2 separate regions of the Homo sapiens genome follow, and region 1 is linked to region 2. Evidence: promoter capture Hi-C in 16 types of primary human blood cells and fetal thymus (Javierre and others, 2016). All regions are on one chromosome and are shown on one strand. Each heading gives the region's core, a stretch centred on a gene start or on the middle of the fragment in contact. The rest is flanking DNA. Distances are from core to core; before and after follow the strand shown. Region 1 has its middle 3.9 kb from the start of CWF19L2. Region 2 holds the start of C11orf65 (chromosome 11 open reading frame 65).

The links. The method cuts DNA at HindIII sites, captures the fragments that hold promoters and counts their contacts. A CHiCAGO score of 5 or more calls a contact.
Region 1: a contact is called between a fragment that was not itself captured here and the fragment with the promoter of C11orf65 in region 2, in 2 of 17 cell types (non-activated CD4 T cells and total CD8 T cells). The highest score is 7.7, in non-activated CD4 T cells.

The regions. Positions count from the first base shown.
Region 1 is chr11:107,459,091-107,464,384 of GRCh38, reverse strand. No RefSeq gene overlaps it. Among named protein-coding and RNA genes, the nearest start is that of CWF19L2, 3.9 kb to the right of the region's middle. The HindIII fragment of the contact is 4,148 bases long and covers 1,501-5,294 here.
Region 2 is chr11:108,463,260-108,468,862 of GRCh38, reverse strand. It overlaps C11orf65 (chromosome 11 open reading frame 65), which reads left to right and starts at 1,334. Exons shown (of 9, transcript NM_152587.5): 1 at 1,334-1,392. RefSeq lists a cis regulatory region at 1,250, enhancers at 1,178-1,322, 1,263-2,115 and a silencer at 3,147-3,441. The HindIII fragment of the contact is 4,195 bases long and covers 1-2,170 here.

The sequences.
Region 1 (5,294 bases), core at 2,325-4,824, 1.0 Mb after region 2:
ATAAAGGGATGAAGGAATATTTACCAAGCAAATGTAAAGTAAAAAAAAAGCAGGGGTTGCAATCCTAGTCTCTGATAAAACAGTCTTTAAACTAACAAAGATCAAAAGAGACAAAGAAGGGCATTACATAATGGTAAAGGGATCAATGCAACAAGAAGAGCTAACTATCCTAAATATATATACACCCAATACAGGAGCACCCAGATTCATAAAGCAAGTTCTTGAAGACCTACAAAGAAACTTAGACTCCCACACAATAATAGTGGGATAATTTAACTCCCTACTGTCAATTTTAGACAGATCAACAAGACAGAAAATTAACAAGGATATCCAGGACTTGAACTCAGCTATGGACCAAGCAGATCTAATAGACATCTACAGAACTCTCCACCCCAAATCAACAGAATGTACATTCTTCTCAGTACCACATCACACTTATTCTAAAATTGACCACATTATTGGAAGTAAAACACTACTCAGCAAATGCAAAAGAATGGAAATCATAACAGTCTCTCAGACCACAGTGCAATCAAATTAGAACTCTGGATGAAGAAACTCAATCAAAACTGCACAACTACATGGAAACTGAACAACCTGCTCTTAAATGACTACTGGGTAAATAATGAAATTAGGCAGAAATAAATAAGTTCTTTGAAGCCAATGAGAACAAACACACAACGTATCAGAATCTCTGGGACACAGCTAAAGCAGTGCTTTGAGGGAAATTTATAGCACTAAATGACTACAAGAGAAAGTAGGAAAGATCTAAAATTGACCCCCTAACATCACAATTAAAAGAACTAGAGAAGCAAGCGCAAACAAATTCAAAAGCTAGCAGAAGACAAGAAATAACTAAGATCAGAGCAGAACTGAAGGAGATAGAGACATGAAAAACCCTTCAAAAAATCAATGAATCCAGGAGCTGTTTTTTTTAAAGATCAACAAAATAGACCACTAGCCAGACTATAAAGAAGAAAACAGAGAAGAATCAAATAGGTGCAATAAAATTGATAAAGGGGATATCAACACTGATCCCACAGAAATACAAACTACCATCAGAGAATACTATAAACACCTTTATGCAAATAAACTAGAAAATCTAGAAGAAATGGATAAATTTCTGGACACATATACCCTCTCAATTCTAAAGCAGGAAGAAGTCGAATCCCTGAATAGATCAATAACAAGTTCTAAAATTGAGGTAGTAATTAATAGCCTACCAACAAAAAAAAGTCCAGGACCAGAAGGATACACAGCCGAATTCTACCAGAGGTACAAAGAGGAGCTGGTCCCATTCCTTCTGAAACTATTTCAATCAATAGAAAAAGAGGGACTCCTCCCTAACTCATTTTGTGAGGTCAGCATCATCCTGATACCAAAACCTGGCAGAGACACAACAACAACAACAAAAAATTTCAGGCCAGTATCCCTGATGGACATTGATGTGAAAATCCTCAATAAAATACTGGCAAGCCGAATCCAGCAGCACATCAAAAAGCTTATCCACCATGATCAAGTCGGCTTCATCCCTGGGATGCAAGGCTGGTTCAACATATGCAAATCAATAAATGTAAACCATCACTTAAAAAGATCCAATGACAAAAACCACATGATCATCTCAATAGATGCAGAAAAGGCCTTCAATAAAATTAAACACCCCTTCATGCTAAAAACTCTTTAATAAACTAGGTATTGATCGAATGTATCTCAAAATAATAAGAGCTATTTATGACAAACCCACAGCAAATATCATACTGAATGGGCAAAAACTGGAGGCATTCCCTTTGAAAACCGGCACAAGACAGGGATGCCCTCTCTCACCACTCCTATTCAACATTGAATATTGGAAGTTCTGACCAGGGTAATCAGGCAAGAGAAAGAAATAAAGGGTATTCTAATAGCAAGAGAGGAAGTCAAATTGTCTCTGTTAGCAGATGACATGATTGTATATTTAGAAAACCCCACCGTCTCAGCCCAAAATCTCCTTAAGCTGATAAGCAACTTCAGCAAAGTCTCAGGATACAAAATCAATGTGCAAAAATCACAAGCATTCCTATACACCAATAACAGACAAACAGAGAGCCAAATCATGAGTGAACTCCCATTCACAATTGCTACAAAGAGAATAAAATACCTAGGAATACAACTTATAAGAGATGTGAAGGAACTCTTCAAGGAGAACTACAAACCACTGCTCAAGGAAATAAGAGAGGACACAAACAAATGGAAAAACATTCCATGCTCATGGATAGGAAGAATCAATACTGTAAAAATGACCATACTGTCCAAAGTAATTTATAGGTGCAATGCTATCCCCATCAAGTTACCATTGACTTTCTTCACAGAATTAGAAAAAACTACTTTAAATTTCATATGGAACAAAAAAAGAGCCTGCATAGCCAAGACAATCCTAAGCAAAAAGAACAAAGCTGGAGGCATCACATTACCTGACTTCAAACTATACTACAAGGCTACAGTAACCAAAACAACATGGTGCTAGTACCAAAACAGATATATAGACCAATGGAACAGAACAGAGGCCTCAGAAATAACACCACACATCCACAACCATCTGATCTTTGACAAACCTGACAAAATCAAGAAATGGAGAAAGGATTCCCTATTTAATAAATGGTGTTGGGAAAACTGGCTAGGCATATGCAGAACACTGAAACTGGACCCCTTCCTTACACCTTATACAAAAATTAACTCAAGATGGATTAAAGACTTAAATGTAAGACCTAAAACCATAAAAACCCTAGAAGAAAACCTAGGCAATACCATTCAGGACATAGGCTTGGGCAAACACTTCATGACTAAAACACCAAAAGCAATGGCAACAAAAGCCGAAATTGGCAAATGGGATCTAATTAAACTAAAGAGCTTATGCACAGCAAAAGAAACTATCATCAGTGAACAGGCAACCTACAGAATGGGAGAAAATTTTTGCAATCTGTTCATCTGACAAAGGGCTAATATCCAGAATCTACAAAGAACTTCAACAAATTTACAAGAAAAAAACAACCCCATCAGAAAGTGGGCTAAGGGTATGAACAGACACTTTTCAAAAGAAGACATTTATGCAGCCAATAAACATATGAAAAAAAGCTCATCTTCACTGGTCATTAGAGAAATGCCAATCAAACCACAATGAGATACCATCTCATGCCAATTAGAATGGCGATCATTAAAAAGCCAGGAGACAACAGATGCTGGAGAGGATGTAGAGAAATAGGAATGCTTTTACACTGTTGGTGGGAGTGTAAACTAGTTCAACCATTGTGGAAGACAGTGTGGTGATTCCTCAAGGATCTAGAACCAGAAATAACATTTGTCCCAGCAATCCCATTACTGGGTATATACCCAAAGGATTATAAATCATTCTACTATAAAGACATGCACACGTACGTTTATCTCTGCACTGTTCACAATAGCAAAGACTTGGAACCAACCCGAATGCCCATCAATGATAGACTGGTTTAAGAAAATGTGTTACATATACACCATGGAATACTATGCAGCCATAAAAAGGATGAGTTTATGTCCTTTGCAGGGACATGGATGAAGCTGGAAACCATCATTCTCAGCAAACTAACACAAGAACAGAAAACCAAACACCGCATGTACTCATAAGTGGGAGTTGAACAATGAGAACACATGGACACAGAGAGGGAACATCACACACCAGGGCCTGTTGGGGGGTGAGGGGCTGGGGGAGGGATAGCATTAGGAGAAATACCTAATGTAGATGACGGGTTGATGGGTGCAGCATACCTCCATACCACGTGTATACCTATGTAACAAACCTGCACATTCTGTACATGTACCCCAGAACTTAAAGTATATATATATATATATATATATATATATATATATATATATATATATATATATATATAAAGAATGTGGGTACATGTCTAAAGGACACAGGAACCAGCTTGAAAGGGCTCTCACTGGCCTAACCTGGACCAATTTGAGGATCAAAATAAATACTGATAACGAATTTTTATCCCACTGAACAAAAACAGGAATCCACTGAGAAATTATGAATCTGTATTATATAAAAATAAATAACTTGAAAATTTGGTACATGATCTACATAGTTTCAAAGAACCACTTCACAAAATACTTATTATAGAAGGAAAAGAGGTACTTTACAGCAGAGAAGCTCTGCAGATGCCAGTTTATTTAAATGATCAGAATTAACATCACCTGTAATGGAACAAATGGAAATCATGCGCTACCCAACAGGATGCAGTAAGACCGCCTCACTTCTGTGATCGTCCTGCTTAAGAGGCCAAATTTGAATTTAATCACAAAAGAACCTCCGACAAACCCAAGTTGAGTGACATTCTATAACACAACTATCCTGCAATCTTCATGAAACTTTTGTAGTTAATTGTGATCATCTGACCTATTTCTGGATCATAGGATTTAAATGAAAGAAACTGAACTAGGCTTTAGGAAAAGCCATCATTTTTCTAATAAAAAATGAGGCCAGCTTAGCTAACAACGTTTACCCTTTGTCCTTTCTCTTTATTCTTGTTTATCAGATGCCGTGAACAGATGTGAAAGAATATGATACCCTGCTTGTGACTACAAATACTAAAGTCACAGACTGCAACAAAGCGAAAAAGGATAAACTATTTGGCTCCTTCAGCAATTGCACCAAGCCTGGACCAGTTACTTTTAGGCTCCTTGTTACGTTATCCTTTATTTGATTAAGCCATGTGACTGGATTCGCATTAGGTGTGGCCAAATGCAAACCTAGCCAAAATAACCTGCTTTTTCTTTCTTTTCTTTTCTTTTCTTTTTTCTATTTTAACATATCTAGTTCCCCTCTCTAACCCCAACTTTTTTTTGGGCAGTTTTATTTGTATTGCATGGTATTTACAAATTAATTGAGAAATGATTTTTTATGATGTTTTCTTCTTTAAGCACATAGTATACCTCTCCATTCGTTCTAGTCTTTTTGGGGAGCTTATGCAAGATTTTAAAGTTTTCTTCATATAACTTTGCACATTGCTCTAGACCGAATGTTTGTTTCCCCAAAATTCTTATGTTGAAATCTAATCCCCAATGTGCTGGTATATGGAGGTAGGGACTCTGGGAGGTGATTAGGTCATGAGAGCAGCACCCTCATGAATTCCTATAAAAGAAGTTCTAGAGAGATCCCTCTCCCTTTCCGCCATATGAGACACAGCAAAAATACTGCCCTCTAGGAACCAGGACACACCTTCACTAGACAGCAAATAGCCCAACACCTTGATTTTATCCAGCCTCCAGAACTGTAA
Region 2 (5,603 bases), core at 85-2,584:
CAAAGTGCTGGGATTACAGGTGTGAGCCACCACACCTGGCCTGAATTTAAATTTTTTAACCCAGTTTCTATTAGATTGAAAATTAAGATATACATAATGTTTCCATGACTATATTTTTACAGTTTATTGTTCATAACTACTGTGTATTAATGCATCAAGGCAACTACATAAAGAGGAACTGAAGCTCACCCCTTGCTTATGATTGTGATGATTTTAAAGAACTCTGGAAGTTCAGTGAGTCACTGAATTAACCTACCAAGAATTTTTTCTGTACAAATGTTTTCATTATACAGGGAAATTTCTCTTCAGGTGTTTCTTTTCCCTCCTTAAAAGTTTATCTTCCTTACAAACAAATTATATTCCATGCATGAACATAGGACGAACATAGCAAAACTGGGCAGTTCTGAACAAGATTTTTTCACATTGCAATAATCTGTGACCAACTAAAGCACTGCCAAAGTGTCAGACTCAGAATTCAAGCAAGTCAGACTTGCTTTAGATAAGCAGTGCTTGCATTATTTAAGGTCATTTGAAAACTCATTCAAGAGGTCGTCTGTTTTCACTTAAAGCAGTTTAGCTTAACCAGCTGAAGAGCTTACATTTAGAAATAACATTGGACTGCAAGTCACGTATTCTTTGACCTTGAGCAAGACCTGTCAAATAGCTAGAAGGATCAGTTGTCTCATTTTCAAATGAATAAATTAAACTAATTAAATAGGCCGGGCGCGGTGGTTCACGCCTGTAATCCTAGCACTTTGGGAGGCCAAGGCGGGAGATGGGGTAGGGGGGGATCGCTGGAGCCCAGGAGTTCAAGACCAGCCTGGACAACATGGAGAAACCCTGTCGCCACTATTAATAAAAATAGAAAAATGAGCCTGGCGTGGTGGTGCACTCCTACGGTCCCAGCTACTCGGGAGGCTGACGTGGGAGAATCACCTGAGCCAGGGGAGTTCCAGGCTGCAGTGAGCCGAGATCGCGCCACTGCACTCCAGCCTCGGCCACAGATTGAGACCCTATCTCAAGAAAAATTTTACAAAAATTAATAGAAAATATTTCATTATATTTCTCAACATCTTTAAGGTTCTTGGTTGAAATGACTGGGCTTTATTATATACTAAGCCCAACTTCGTAGACAATCACTTTGCTTTCCCTTCCAAAATCCTTTGCCTCAAAGCCACTGACAATCGAAAGCGGGCTTCTAACAGAACCAGCAGCCTTCACAAGCGGTTGGTCTATATCCCCTGCACTTTGTCAGAGCGCGAATAGAGGAAAGGCGGGGCCTAGAAGGCGGGGCTAGGAGGGCAATGGGGCGGGACAGAACGGATTGAGTTACGTCATTTCCGCCTGCGACGTTACCTAGGAGTCCAGCGGCGCCCGGGCCAGCAGCGATTGGTAGGTGAAGGGAATAGTGTCCCTTCTCTCAGCGCGTACTACTGTTCCGGTAGCCTTTGTGCCCACTGGTTTGAGCCTTCGTTGTTTCAAGGCCCTAAAGAACCCATACCCTTGATACCATTCCCCATCCGCCCCTCTTAAGGACGTTTCATTCCTCTAAAGCCCTCCCAGCGAGGCCTCCAGCTGGTTTACAGTCCTGCCCGGGAGTAACCCCTTCCTCAGAGCTCCTTTCCTCGCCCTCGGTGAAGTTGCGTCGGGCTGGTTGACAAGTCCTTACTGCTCATACTGCGCCTTCACAGATCCCCACACCCCAATCCTCCGCAAAGATATTACTCCGTCCACCTTCCCGCTGACCGGGAAGTACACATTAATCTTCCTTAGATTTTTCCTCATTTCTTTCCTTTGCCCCCTCCCATTTGTTTTACGTCTTTTCAGTTTTTTTAGAGATGGAAAAGGGAAACGCGTTTTTAAAGAATAGGTTAGTTTTTCTTCTCCTGCCCCTAGCATCAAGGACCACAGGTAAAAAGGAAAAGCGAAATTACGAAACTTATAAAGGCCACGCGAATCATTTGTTTATTCAATAAATTTAGTAGAGGAAACAAAATAGGACGTATACAGGTTCCAATTCAAGCAAAGTAAAGATTGTTTGCTGCTTTAAAAGTGAAACCAAGAATCCAAACACGTCTTGTGGGCTTTTTTCCACGAAGCGTAAAAATAAATAAGTGAAAACATCATCTATTATGATAAAAAATTTTATTGATTAGGGATATAATAAGCTTGGAAAATACTTATCTGTGAATCTACAAGTGGCACATGGGTGTAGTAAAATACTTCATTGCCTGAGCAGTTGTTTGATAGTACATTTTATTTGGTTAGTTTTTTGTTGTTGTTTGTTTTTGAGAAGGCATCTCGCTGTGTTGCCCAGGCTGAGTGCAGTGGCGTGATCTCAGTTCACTGCAACCTCTGCCTCCTGGGTTCAAGTTATTCTCCTGCCTCAGCCTTCCGAGTAGCTGTGACTGCAAGTGTGCGCCACCACACCCAGTTTATTTTTGTATTTTTACTAGAGACAGGGTTTCACCATATTGGCCAGGCTGGTCTCAAACCCCTGACTTAAGGTGATCTGCCCACCTTGGCCTCCCAAAATGTTAGGATTACAGGCCTGAGCCACCAGACCCGGCCTGGTAGTACATTTTAGTATCTTAAAACTTATGAAGGGTTTTCACAATGGTTATTTTATCTGGAGCATCATAATAACCATATAAAGTCGATCTTATTTCTTATCTAAAGCCAGCAACGGTCCCACCCTCCTTTCTGCTCCAGATGGTGTCCTCTTACACCTACTCAAAGGTTTTACCATTTAACTTATCCCTTTTTTTGCCCCTTTAAGTTCTCCGTCACTTTAATTTCTCCCTCACTACTGGATGGTACATTTTAACATGCTTTAGAATCTGTCGTTTTTTGTTGTTGTTGTTGTTTTTTTTTTTTTTTAGACCGAGTTTCACTCTTGTTGCCCAGGCTGGAGTAGTGGCATGATCTCGACTCACCGCAACCTCCGCCTGCCAGGTTCAAGCAATTCTCCTGCCTCAGCCTTCCTGAGTAGCTGGGATTACAGGCATGCGCCACCACACCCAGCTAATTTTGTATTTTTAGTAGAGACGGGATTTCTCCATTTTGGTCAGGCTGGTCTCAAACTCCCAACCTCAGATGATCCGCCCACCTTGGCCTCCCAAAGTGCTGGGATTACAGGCGTGAGCCACCGCGCCCAGCCTTTTTTTTTTAAAAAAAAACCTTTAATCCATTCTCACTCTCTAGCTACACCCCATTTTTCTGCTCCCTTACAGCACTCCAAAGAATTACTACTGTACTTACTGTCTCAACTTTCCCACTTCCTCAACCCAACCCAAACTTCCTTCCCTGCTTACTCCACTGAAGCAGTGCCTGTACAGTCACTAGTGACTTTATCTGGCCAAATCTCCCTTTTTTTCCTCTGTATTTACTTGCCCTTGCAACAATATTTGACACAATTGAATATGTTCTTTCTTGAAATTGTGGAACTTCATTGTTTATTTCTGAATCAGATAATTTTGAATGCTGGAATATATTTCCTCTATATTTTGTGTATTCATAAACATATAATGGTGGCATTTATGACATACTTTTTTGGCAGCTTCTAAACACCCTTTAGCCTATGTCACTAGAGAAGCAGGAAGCAGGTGTATGCAGAAAGCCCGTGTAAAATTATTTAGATCAAAGTATTCAATAAACTGGTTCAGGATTTTCAAGGGATTTTTAAGATCCAGTGTTAAATTTCCACCTACAAAATTGGGAATGTATTTGGGAAAATGATGAAATTGTGATGAATTAATGCTAATGCTGTCACGTTAAATAACACACACACTACATTGATAACAGGTAAAAAATCTCACAGTTTAGTTCTTGGAAAGTATTAAAAGACCCATTTTAATCCTAATATCTAATTTACGTTTAGTTTTTTACTTTTCTAAAATTTAGAGTCAAGCATTCCCATAGAATGTTTATGGGCATAAATTAGACACCATTTTTGAGGACAGTTTGGCAGTGTTAGGTTTCAATATGCACGCTGTTTTTTTTAATGAAGTTATATTGTATATATCTGAACTAAATGCACATTGTGGAAAAATACCAACAGCATAAAAGAGTATACTGGAACAAAAACATCTCTTCCCTTTCCGAACCCAGGCTCCTCAGTCCACAGGTCCCTTCCTAGAGACAATCATTCTTAGTAATTTCTCATATCCCTTTCCAGAGAGAGTCAATTCAAATATATATGTGCACCAGGCGCAGTGGCTCATGCCTGTAATCCCAGCGCTTTGGGAGGCCGAGGTGGGTGGATCACGAGGTCAAGAGATGGAGACCATTCTGACCAACATGGTGAAACCCCATCTCTACTTAAAATACAAAAATTAACTGGGCACGGTGGTGCACACCTGTAGTGCCAGCTACTTGGGAGGCTGAGGCAGGAGAATCACTTGAACCCGGGAGGCGGAGGTTGCAGTGAGTGGAAATCGCGGGGAGGCTAAGGCAGGAGAATCGCTTGAACCCAGGAGGCGGAGGTTGCAGTGCACCAAAATCGCTCCACTGCATTCCAGCCTGGCGACAGAGCGAGACTCCGTCTCAGAAAACAAACAAAAAACAGAAATATATATGTGCATACCTTTTGTCATAGCAATTCCACTTGTAAAAACTATCCTACAAAAATTGTTGCCGCTGAGCGCAATGGCTTATGCCTGTAATGCTAGCACTTTGGGAGGCCAAGGCGGGTGGATTTCTTGAGGCCAGCAGTTCGAGCCCACCCTGGCCAACAGGGTGAAACTCTGTCTCTACTAAAAATACAAAAATTAGCCAGGCGTGGTGGCACACACCTGTAATCCCAGCTACTCAGGAGGCTGAGACATGAGAATCACTTGAACCCGGGAGGTGGAGGTTGCAGTGAGCTGAGATGATGTCTCTGCACTCCAGCCTGGGTGACAGAGCAAAATTCTGTCTCAAAAAAAAAAAAAAAAAAAATTAACAAATCTTTTAGGCCTGAAATATCATTCCTTAATCTCATTTGTGCTAACAGTTATTTGTAAATTAAGAGAATAATTGTACTTAAAATGTTATCTCAGTTTCCTAACTGGAATAATGCACATGAATAGTTTTTATTTTGGAAAATAGTTTGTATTATAATAATATGATTTATTGAGTGGCTATGGTGGGTCAGAAACTATACTAAATGCTTTACCTGTGTTATCTGACTTAATCCTAACAATTCTATGAGTTAGGTACAATGAGTCCCCATATTTTACAGATGAGTAACTTGAAGTTTGAGTGAGTTAAGTAACTTCGGCAAAATCATGCAGCTAAGAATGAGGTAGAATTTGTTGAGATTTAAACCCTGGTCTATCTTGCCTCAGAGTCCAAAGACTTAACCTGTCTTCCCATGCCTCCTATATTAATAAGGCTATTTGTAGGGAAAGCAAAAAAGACATAAGTTTTTTTCATAGCGAACCTTCTCCCAACTCTTAAAAATGTGAATTTAAAAAACAACAATTTACCAAATTAGGAAGAAAACACCTTTAGTTTTAAGCATCTGAATAACTTTAAACGTCAAAAGGGAAAAATGGCAAGTTGAGAAATATATAAATACATTTTTCTTATGAATGGCGTATCCTTTTTGAAAGTTTTCTGTT